Regions from separate parts of the Homo sapiens genome. Here all the other regions are linked to region 1. The links are contacts of gene promoters, found by promoter capture Hi-C in blood cells and fetal thymus (Javierre and others, 2016). All regions are on one chromosome and are shown on one strand. The core of a region is centred on a gene start or on the middle of the fragment in contact, and the rest is flanking DNA. Distances in the headings are between cores, read along the strand shown.

What was found. The method cuts DNA at HindIII sites, captures the fragments that hold promoters and counts their contacts. A CHiCAGO score of 5 or more calls a contact.
Region 2: a contact is called between a fragment that was not itself captured here and the fragment with the promoter of IL1RL2 in region 1, in 6 of 17 cell types (activated CD4 T cells, naive CD4 T cells, M2 macrophages and 3 more). The highest score is 9.4, in activated CD4 T cells.
Region 3: a contact is called between a fragment that was not itself captured here and the fragment with the promoter of IL1RL2 in region 1, in 9 of 17 cell types (M2 macrophages, M1 macrophages, M0 macrophages and 6 more). The highest score is 10.4, in M2 macrophages.
Region 4: a fragment that was not itself captured here is called in contact with the fragment with the promoter of IL1RL2 in region 1 in 2 of 17 cell types (activated CD4 T cells and M2 macrophages); the score reaches 6.0 in activated CD4 T cells.

The regions. Positions count from the first base shown.
Region 1 is chr2:102,185,681-102,188,322 of GRCh38, reverse strand. IL1RL2 (interleukin 1 receptor like 2) reads right to left here and starts at 1,300. Exons shown (of 12, transcript NM_003854.4): 1 at 1,237-1,300; 2 at 398-467. The coding sequence starts at 455. RefSeq lists an enhancer at 1,115-1,644. The HindIII fragment of the contact is 3,870 bases long and covers 1-1,932 here.
Region 2 is chr2:102,425,483-102,428,124 of GRCh38, reverse strand. All of the region lies in intron 3 of IL18RAP (interleukin 18 receptor accessory protein), which reads right to left. Among named protein-coding and RNA genes, the nearest start is that of IL18RAP, 3.6 kb to the right of the region's middle. The HindIII fragment of the contact is 1,797 bases long and covers 439-2,235 here.
Region 3 is chr2:102,005,904-102,008,545 of GRCh38, reverse strand. IL1R2 (interleukin 1 receptor type 2) reads right to left here. Exons shown (of 9, transcript NM_004633.4): 2 at 1-31. Among named protein-coding and RNA genes, the nearest start is that of IL1R2, 15 kb to the right of the region's middle. The HindIII fragment of the contact is 621 bases long and covers 976-1,596 here.
Region 4 is chr2:102,041,800-102,044,441 of GRCh38, reverse strand. It overlaps LOC107985926 (a long non-coding RNA gene), which reads right to left and starts at 2,016. Exons shown (of 3, transcript XR_001739615.1): 1 at 1,353-2,016; 2 at 678-791; 3 at 1-468. RefSeq lists an enhancer at 1,826-2,642. The HindIII fragment of the contact is 3,739 bases long and covers 1-2,642 here.

The DNA.
Region 1 (2,642 bases), core at 51-2,550:
ATGAGCCACTGCGCCCGGCCATACCAAATTTCTTAGAAGAAATTTGTTCTATTGACGGTTTCCTTGCTTTCACCTTGTGTCATAAAATAACGCTTTATCTTATAAAATAGCCTGTAGTAATTCCATTTGAGCATTGTTACTCAAGTCTTCACTTGGAATTTGCCTAACTCCTTCCCCTCCCCGAAGTCACCTCCAAGCTCAAAGGCGACATTCAGGGCTGAGCATCCGAGCACGTGGAGCTGGTTCTCTGTTTCCTCTTCCGCGGAACTCCGCCTGGCGGTCTGGGGAGGGGAAGGAGCCGCGCTCGGGCTGACGCGATCCCCGGGGGCTCCCAATGACAGGCCAGGAGCCTGTGGACTCGGGCAGCCTCTGGGAACGGAGGACACACGGAACGTACCTGCTGTGACAGACAGTGGAAGGGCGATGGACAACCCGCAGAGCAGCAAGGACCACATCCCCAAACCGGGCTGCAAGGAAGGGAGAAGAGGGTGGGAGGGGAGGACGCAGTAGGGCGGGCCCGAGGCGCCGGCGTGGGCGACCTCGGAATCTCAAAGACAACCGCCCAGGCCGCTGACCTTCCCTTTTTCCTGGGGAGCCCTCCGACTTTGGCCCCACGTTTCCCCAAAGACTGCCCTTCCCCTGTCTCCTTCGTCTGGGCGCCCGACCAGGATCCAGGGCAGGGAGCTCGCCCCGCCGCAGAGGAGGATGGGCGAGGAGTAGGCGGCGGCGGCGGTGGGGACCGCGTGGGAGCTGCTTCTGCCACCTGACAGCGAAGCAGGCTGGTGTCCAGAGCCCCCGTGAGGGCCAGGGCGCCCCCCAGCGCAGCCTGCGGCCTGGGTTCCAGACGTGGGACCCCAACCCCGCTCGCGGCGCACGGAGCCTCCCCTGCGCGCCTGTGTCCTCGGGATCCACCCGAGCCTGGCGGTCTAAACAGAAACCCCAAACACCCGCTCACTGGGGAGCAGCCAGGGCAGGCCTACCTGGCAAGGGCCAGCGGGAAAGGAGAAAGGAAGGCAGGGAGCCGCTGGAGCTGAAAATAGCCGCGAGCTCCACTCCTCGACCCAGAGACGGAGTCGGCTCCCCCATGGTCACCTAGCCGGTCGGGGGCCGGCCTGGGGGGCCTGATCCCTGGCCTGCGGTGGCACACATTGTTGCCACGTCTTTTCCTGCACACCTCTCCTACTGTCAGGGCCCCACCCATGCCTGGCTCAGCCAGACTCCCGGCCCGGTGTCTACCTGCCTGCAGGATTGAAGCGCGCAGGACCTCGTGGAGAGTGGAAAATATGACAGGGACACGAGCCCTGTCATGCCACTTCCATGCCTAGGTATTTCCCCGCCACCGTGGGCGGGGCAGACCTGCCTTCCCCAGTGGAGCGTAGGAAGGAATGTGACATCACACTAGGAAGTGGCTTGAAAGTCTTTGAGCCTGATTTTCTGGCATCTAAGTCCTTCATCACCAGGAGTGTCTGCTTAAGTCTATTCCAAGTTGAACGTCTAAATGAATTATTCATTCCTTTCCAAATCCTATTTGAGCAGTTACTGCATGCTCTGCATTGGCCTATGTGGAATGACCCCAAAGTGGAAGCCATCCCAAATGGCTTCTAAGGAGAATTATGAATCTGCCTGAGTCGTGCTCATTAACTTCTGTAAGGCAGGAATCCCATGGTGTTCAAGTACTTCAGAGCCTGAAGACTGTTCCTGTCTAAAACTTCCCGATAAGGTGATGTCAACAGGGACCTGTTGCCCTAGCCATCAGGAGACACCCCAGAGTCATCCCACAGGGCACTGAGTTGTAGGAAAAGGTTCAAAATGTAATCTCCATTCAATAGATTACTGGTCAAGCTCTTCCCAACGGTCTTTGAAAGATCAGAGACAGTGAGACAAAAGCAACCATAGGAGCAGAGATGCAATAATTGTGCTAATAGCAAAGCTTCCTGTGATAGGCTGAAGGTCAGTGGTTTGTAGATTTCTACACTCTTAAAAAGTATTGAGGATTCCAAAGTGCTTTTGTCTATGTAGGTTATGCCTGTCAATATTACTACATTAGAAGTTAAAGGGAGAATTTTTAAACGTTTACTTTCTTATTTAAGTGACAATAAACCCATTACATGTTAACGCAAATATCATACAATTTATGAAAAATAACTCTACTTTCTAAAACAGGCTTATTGAGAAAAGCGGCATTGTTCTACATAGATGCAGATCTCTTTGATGTCTGGCTTACTAGAAGATGACTGGATTCTCATACTTGCTTCTGCAATCAGTGTCATGATATAATATGTCATATAGCTTCTGAAAAGGTCCACCATACACTAATGAGAGAATGAGAATAAAAAAGGAATATAAGGTCTTAATATTACGATGAACATAGTTTTGATTTCACAGATCTTTTTGAAGGGTCTCTCAGGGACCCATAGGGCTCCCACTCTTTGAGGACCTCTTTCTTAAGCTATAAATAGAGATTATTATTTATTTCCCCTACTATCAGCAGTAAACGAGGTTCCTCTGTATATGTATATTCTTCAGCGTTTATGTCCTCATCCAAAACAAAACAAAAGTGTTACTATTTTTATAAAAGTCATATGATTTGCATTCAGAATTATTTCTATGAGCAGTGTTGAAAGGTATTTCTAAATCTTTAT
Region 2 (2,642 bases), core at 88-2,587, 240 kb before region 1:
GATTTCAAAATATATTGTTAAGCCATTTAAATCAAAACAGCATGGTACTGGCATAAAAACAGACACATGAACAAATGGAATATGACAGAAAGCCCAGAAAGAAACCCACACATTTATGGTCAATAAATTAAAAAAAAAAAAAAAGATGCCAAGAACACACAATGGGGAAAGGATTATCTCTCCAATAAATGGTGTTAGGAAAACCGGCTATCTACAGGGAGAAGAATGAAATTGTATCTCATAGCACATACAACCCATCAATTCAAAATGGGTTAAAGAATGAAATAGAAGACCTAAAGTTGTAAAACTTCTAAAAGAAAACATAGAGGGAAAGCTCTACAGCACTGTTATGGGCAAATATTCTTTTGAATATGACCCTGAAAGCACAGGCAACAAAAACAAAAATAGAAAAATGATATAGCATAAAACTAAAAAGCTTCTGTGTAGCAAAGGAAACAACCCACCAAATGGGGAAAATATTTACAAGCTATATATCTGATAAGGAGTTAATGTGAAGAATATATAAGGAACTCAAACACTGCATTAGCAAGAAAACAAATAGCCCATTTTAAAAATAGGCAAGAGACCTGAAAAGATATTTCTCAAAAGAAAGGATGCAAATGGCCAACAACTATATGAAAAAATGCTGAGTATCACTAATCATCATAGAAATACAAATTGAAACCACAATGACATATCACCTCACACTTGTTAGAGCGGCTTTTATCAAAAAAATTAATCTGTTGTACATTGTTGGTAGAAATGTAAATTAGTACAGCCATTAAGAGAAACTCTATGAAGTCTCATCAGAAAAACTAAAAATAGAGCTACCATATGATTCAGCAATCCCACTTTTGGGTACATATCCAAAGAGATTGAAATCAGTATGGCAAAGGGTTAACTACGCTCCTATGCTTACTGCAGCACTATTCACAATAGCCAAGATATGGAATCAACCTTAGTGTCCATCAACAGAGGAATGGACAAAGAAAATGTGGTACATGTATGCAACGAAATACTATTCAGCCTTTACAAAAGGAAATTCAATCATGTGGGAGAACACGAATAAACTTGGAAGCTATGCTAAGTGAAATAAGCCGGGCACAGAAAGACAAATGCTGCAAGAGCTCACTCATATATAGAACCTTAAAAAGTTGAACTCATAGAAGTAGAGAATAGAATGATGATTATGGAGGCTTGATTGGTGGGGAGAAGAGGGTGAATGGGGAGATACTGGTCAAAGAGTACAAAGTTTCAGATAGATGGGAGGAGTTAAGTTTTCAGGCATATTTCACAGCAAGATAACTATAGCCAATAATATTGTATTGCACATTTCAAAATAACTAAGAGAGTAAGTTTCAAATGTCTGTCCACAAAAAAAGTAAGCAAGGTGATGGATGTGTTAATTAGCTTGAGTTAATCACTCCACATTGTATACATATATCAAAACATCACATCAATACTTTTTTTTGCATGTGGTATGAGATACAATTTCATTCTTCTCCCTGTAGATAACCAGTTTTCCTAACACCACTTATTGGAGAGGTAATCCTTTCCCCATTGTGAGTTCTTGGCATCTTTTTTTAAAATCTATTGACCATTAAATGTATTGTATATATTTAATCTATTGTAAATGTATACAATTATGATTTGTTAATTAAAAATAATTTTAAAATAAAGAAGTTGAAAAAAATTTAAACAATCTGCAAGCCTGTTCTTAATTCGCCAATTAAAAATATTGTGGAATGCTCCAGAGACTCCAAGCCCAGGGATTTATTTCAGTTGTATACTCTGTATATCTGGTGGGTGTATCCCTGGTCAGCAGTTTTATTTGAATTCAGTAAAGCCATGTTTTCATTCTCTCAGCCAGTGCCAGCTTCACCTATTCAGAGATGGGTCGTAGGTATGACTTACCCACCACCTGAGAACCTGGGGGTTAGCATGAAGGAAAAAGGCATTAGGTGTTTTTTCCTGCCTAATGCCATCACTTTTAGTGATGTACTACTGCCATAAGGTCTGTGATTTCCAGGTTACTATGTGCCTTTATATGCATGTGTATGTGTGAGTGCACACACACATATGTGTAATTCACAAAACCAGGACCTGTCCAAATCTGTATCAGAGGTACAATTTTCATAACAGCCATTGTTCACCTATTCTTAAGGTGGCTGCCTGTTCACCATTAAACACATGTTGACGTTTGCAGTCAAAGCCCCAGGGAAGTGAAACAAAGCTTCCTTTTGTGAATGTCATACAGTTTTAGGGTTTAGTTTATAAAAGCAATATTTGCAGAAAGCTGGCTACTATTATGCAACTTGTGCTCACCTGAAAAGTAAAAATTCATAGCTTTCACTTCAGGTGTATGATCATTGAAAAGCCAAACACATTTTCATCTGAAATAACGGGGACAAGACTGCTTTACAGGCCTGAGAACAGCCCACCAAGACAACAAGACAGCTGCCATCCTGGATGACGGATACTTTGAACCAAAGGAAGTTTTGTTCTTGAGAGAGAACTGAAAATAATGAACAAAACTATTGGCTCTTCTTACTAACCTCATTTTAAAGGTTATGAAATGAATGTTTCTGAAATTAGGGTTTTATTGAGACCAGCATTCTTTCAGTGTCATATAAAAACACAAA
Region 3 (2,642 bases), core at 37-2,536, 180 kb after region 1:
AGTGGAGGACTGAGACCCAGCAGCACGTGGCCTAGGGGAGGAAACAGAGGTGTCACCAGGAACCAAGAACCCTGCAGAGAGAATCCCTTGAAGACGGGGTAGGGGCAGGGTCTGGAAGCTTCACTGGATAATGGGAACCTTTTGGCCTACTCTGTTTAAGAACAAAACTCAAAATTTTTGGATTTGTTTCTCTGCAGCTATATTCACTGAACATATCTAAAGTCGAATCCTTGTAGCACCTAGAGGCGTGCTTGGCAGAGGGGCTCTGCCCCATAAGCTGCTGTCTCTGCAGAGACCTCCCTTAGCCATTCCTGCGCCTTGGCCAGAGATGCTGCTTCCTCAGCTAAGGCCACTGCCAGTGCCCTTTCTGCTCGGACTTCACTTTCTTCGTGAGGTCTCCCTCACCTCCCTATCTAAAATTGCACCACCTTTAATCCCAATACTCCATGTTTTCCTTCCCTTCCCTGTCATTCTCTGTGGCATTCATCATCAGCCTTGTCTCCCCTCTCCAGAATTCAGGCTCCACTGATGGAAGGACTGTGAAAGGAAAATAAAAACTTGGGACCCCCAATTCACTCTGCCAAAAGGAAAAAAATAAGCTGAAGTCTGAGTCCTGCAAGAAGCTGCCTTTCCTTTTGTTCCTAAGCAGAGAGCGTACAGATAAAAGATTTTAAAAATTCTCCACAGGTAGCCACTCTATGTTTACCTTATCATATGTGAAGAGCAGATTTACTGAGTATAAGAGGAATATAATTGACTATTCCCTACCTATTTCTTTTCCCTTGCAACACATGGATTCAGTAATGACTGCACCCTCCCTCTCTGCCCTCCAGCCTGCTTTTCAATAGGGGAAAAACTTTACATATTGAAGCCCTCAAAATCATCTTTGGAGAAAGGCACAGACCACAGACTGCTTTTTCTGTGATTCCATGTTTTTTCTCCTGGGCATTGTCCTTAATCTTGGCAAAATAAGCTTCTAAATTATTAAGACTGTCAGATACTTTTTGGTTGACAGAACCCTGCTTTATCTTATTCACAGTTCTGTCCCTAACTCTCATTTTTTGAATGAATGAATGAGTGAGTTAATGGATCACTCAAAGCCCAAGAGTCCTCATATTTCACTTGTCAGAGAGTTTTCCCTATATCCCCTACGGATTAACTCCTGTTTTACATACAACTCTGACATGCGCCAAGAGATTTGGTGTCCTGCTAACACTCTGGTCTACAGCATCCCAGGGAGAAAAGCAACAAGAAATCCAAAACAGAAATAGCTTGTACAAGTTTATGAAGCAGTCCTCCCCCATGCCCCCCAAAGACTGGAGTGTCAGATGCCCTCCTCGTCTCCCTGATGACCTTCTCACACTATCACAAGTGTTCCCTGTGTCTGCTAACCACGGCCACAACGATGCTGCTTAACAAACCAACGACCCCAGAACTGAATGGTGTGAAACAACGGTCGTTCACTCTTGCTCACAAGTCTGTGGGCAAGATGGAAGTTGGTTAACCTAAACTTGGCAGGGTTAGGCCTGGCTCTGAGCGGCAGATGGGGTCCAAGTCTGCTCCATGGGTGTCTCATCCTCCTTGGACCAGTAAGCTTCCTGGGAGATGATCCTCTTTGGGGATGGCGAAACTGGAAACGATGCGGCCAAAAGCACACACGAGGCCACACTGGGAACTAACTCACTCTTGTCTGCTCACATTCCATCCGACACAGCAAGTCAATGCCCCACCCGGCCATCGGCAGGGCCGGAAGTGGGAGCAGTCGTGCCAGCTGCCATGCCTGACTCTTCTGGCTCCGCAAGGATGGTGACAACCTTGGGGCAGAGCCCTGGTCTTGCTCACAGCCCTCATGGCCCACACACTAGAACATACCGGGGAATACTTATGACTAAAAGCCTGCCCACGGCAGGAGTTGTGAATGAATCCAGGGGAAAAATTCCCAGCCACTTTTACCTTGAGTTGTTCCCTGCTCCTTGCACAGATATCTCTGGGAATGACTTGCAGTAAATCCAGGGCGGCATTGCGGCATTGAGGAACCGACCCTCGCACTCCAGAAACCCTCCCTCGTGAGTGGGGAACCCTGAGTCCAAGGACTCAGAGTTACAGTCTGAGCTCCCCCTTCTGGTGACCTGAGATATTCCCCTTAGCTATGTATCTAGCCTGGAGCTTTCTCCCTTAAACTCTGTTTCTACACAATACTATTCTTCACGAGTTTCTGAAGCACAAATAGTTCCTGTGACTTTACCCCTAACCATACTGTCAGGTTTGCCAGATGAAGGTCACATAAACATCCACCAAGCTGCTGTGTCCTCCTTGGACACGCATTAGCTTATCACATCCCCAACTATACTGGTCCAAGCCAGACTCATTAGTGCACCATTAGAACATGAAAGAAGTAGGAATTTAAATACACTGTAGCTAACCAATACCATATATCAGGATAAGTAAATGAAGTCAAAGCTGGTGTTTTAGGGACTAGTGTATAACAATAGCTATTGTGCCAAATATTGAACATTCATTCTTGCATTTTATCCCCACAAACTGAGTATCATGCTGATTTTACAGAGGATGTATTATAAGAGTTTAAAGGGGTTAAAAGGCCTGGCCGAGATCTTACAGCTAGTAAGCAGATGTTGAAATTT
Region 4 (2,642 bases), core at 46-2,545, 140 kb after region 1:
ACTTCAACCTAACATTTCAGCCTACATTAAACATGCTACATAGTCTGCTAAGAAGAGTAATACTGCAGTGACTACAGGAAATAGAAAGTGGTGGTCATGTTCCAGTCCTCCCTTCCTGAGTAACTAGCCCAGAACTTAGAAGTTTAACATTAAAAATATGTTATTTTACCTCAGAATTTTTTAGGTCAGGAATTTGGACAGGGCACAGCTGAGTGGTTCGTCTGTTCCATGTGGCATCAACAGAGTTGACTTGGTGGCACTGGACTAAAAGATGGTCTGGTCTGGAGGGGCTCTCATACATCTGGCACCTTGGCAAGGACAGCTGGAAGACTGGGGTCAGCTGAGACCCTCAACTGGAGCACTTACCTGGGATCTCTCCAGCATGGGAGCCTCAGAGTAGTTGGATACCTTCAATGGCCCCTCAGGACTCCAAGAGCAAGTGTTCCATTCAAGAGTTCCAGTTGCAAGCTGCAGGGATTCCCAGAAGTCCCAGAAAGTCACTTCTGTCTCATTCTATTGGTCAATCAAGTCACTAAGACCACCCCGCATTTAGGAAAAGAGGATTTAAACTCCATTTTTAAATGAAAGAAGTAGCAAAGAATTCATGGGCATCTTTAATCCACCACAGACTCTATTTTTATCCCTTTCACAATGTTATGCTTGGATTAAGTACTCACAGGGCCAGTTGGTTTGCTCTGTACATCATGTCACATCATATCTTCACTGCCCTCCAGTGACATAATAAATCTTAGTACTGTAGCAGAATCAGAGGTTCAACATCACCTTTAGGGCTGGAAGAATTAATGAATGTTAGAAAAAATATCATAGCAACATTGACATTAATATCCATTAGACAATTATGTTTTAATACATAGGGAAGAGGACAGCAAATTATGATGGTAAGAGTAAGAACTTTGCAATCACAATCCACCTAAGTTCAAGTCCCTGCTCTGTCAATTACCAGCCATGTAAATTTAAGCAAGGGACTGAAATTTTCTGATCCTTGGCTTTAAAATGAATACAACACCTGCAGTAGTTGTCTCAGGAACCCCTAATTCTTGAGCTATGTCCATTCCTTCAAGAAAAAAATTGTGGGAGAACTTGTATGTACTTTTGAGAAAGTCCTGGTGGACACGAACTCCATCAGCCACGGCAGGTGACCTCCGTAAGTCACCCTTAGCATGGTGTTTCCTTAAATGGAAACACCAATTAAGACTGGGCAGGGAGAATGGGCCAGTCTCCCTGCCCCCTTATCCTTGCTTCCTGGAATCACTTCCCCCATAAATTGCCTGCATCCAAGTCTTTACCTCAGGATCTACCTCCAGGAGAACAAAAACCAAGGGAATTCTTACCTTACAGGATTGTTCTAAGTGTAACATAAACTCCAAACATAGAAACTGCCAGGCGCAGAGCCTCGTACCTCATTGTCTCTCATTCATTCCCTGCCATTTTCATGGGTCCAGACCACTCATCTTTCCCTACACCTGGCCAGCCCTTTCCAGCCCTGCTCACTGCCCAGTCTGTTTCTCCTAATAGGATATCTCGCCCTCCTCTGAGGTGTTGAAATCTCACCCACCCTTAAACATCCTTCTCTGACCTCCCTGGGTGGGGGAAATCCCCTGGTTATACCCACTTACAGCAAACACAGCTCTCTCCTTCCCTACACTTTCCACAAGTTTACATTTTATCTGGGTCATTATATTATCTTTGTCTGTCTTCTTCATGAGATTTAAGCTCCCACAGGACAGGGGACAGGTCTGTATTCCCTAGCCAAGAAAGGAAAAATTACTATTTGTCGAATGAATGAATGAATGAATGAATACACAAGATGTTCTTTCACCTGTGATTTATGCACTGACCTTGTCCTCTTTCCTATTTGCCCTCCACCACTGACACACATGGCCACCCTGGACACCACTTCTCCCCTCCTGTGTTCCCACAGCATATTGTGGTAACTTGCATTGACTACATTCTCCTCTGTGATTCAGTTTAGATATTTTTGCTTATTTGGTTGTTTGTTTTTTTCTTTTTCTTTTGTTCTTTCTTCCTTCCTCCTTCCCTCTCCTTTCTTTCTTACTCTCTTTTTTTCCTTCCTTCTTCCTTTTTCCTTCCTTTCTTCCTTCTTCTCTGCTCTCATCTTTCTTTTTCTTTTTCTCCCTCTCTTTCTCCTCTCTCCCTCTCTCCTCTCTTCTCCTTTCTTTCTTCCTTCCTTTCTTTCTTTCTGAGAGTCTCAGCATAAAAGAATAAGCCACGTGCTCAACAGGAACTCAGGTATGTAAGTGTCAACCCACCCTGGGTCTTGGCTGACTGAGCACTCTGGGACTGTTGTACTGCATGTAGAGCTGACATTTTGCCTTACCCCAGATTCACCTCCTTTCCAAAATCAGGGAGCACTGGCTGCCCCTTATCCTTTAAAACAATATCCCCACTGGGGGAATAAGTTGCCCCAAGATAAGGAAAGGCAGGCCTGGGAACCAGATCACGGATCCTTGTTGCAGAGCAGAGGGACACATCTGAAGGCTCATGTGGCATGGCCATCCTGCTGTCTTTGAAGCATTTTGCTAGGTTCGTAGGAAGCTGGGACTGTAATTAATGAAAATTAGAAACCTTTTAAAAAGTCTGCACTAATGTATAGTAGAAAA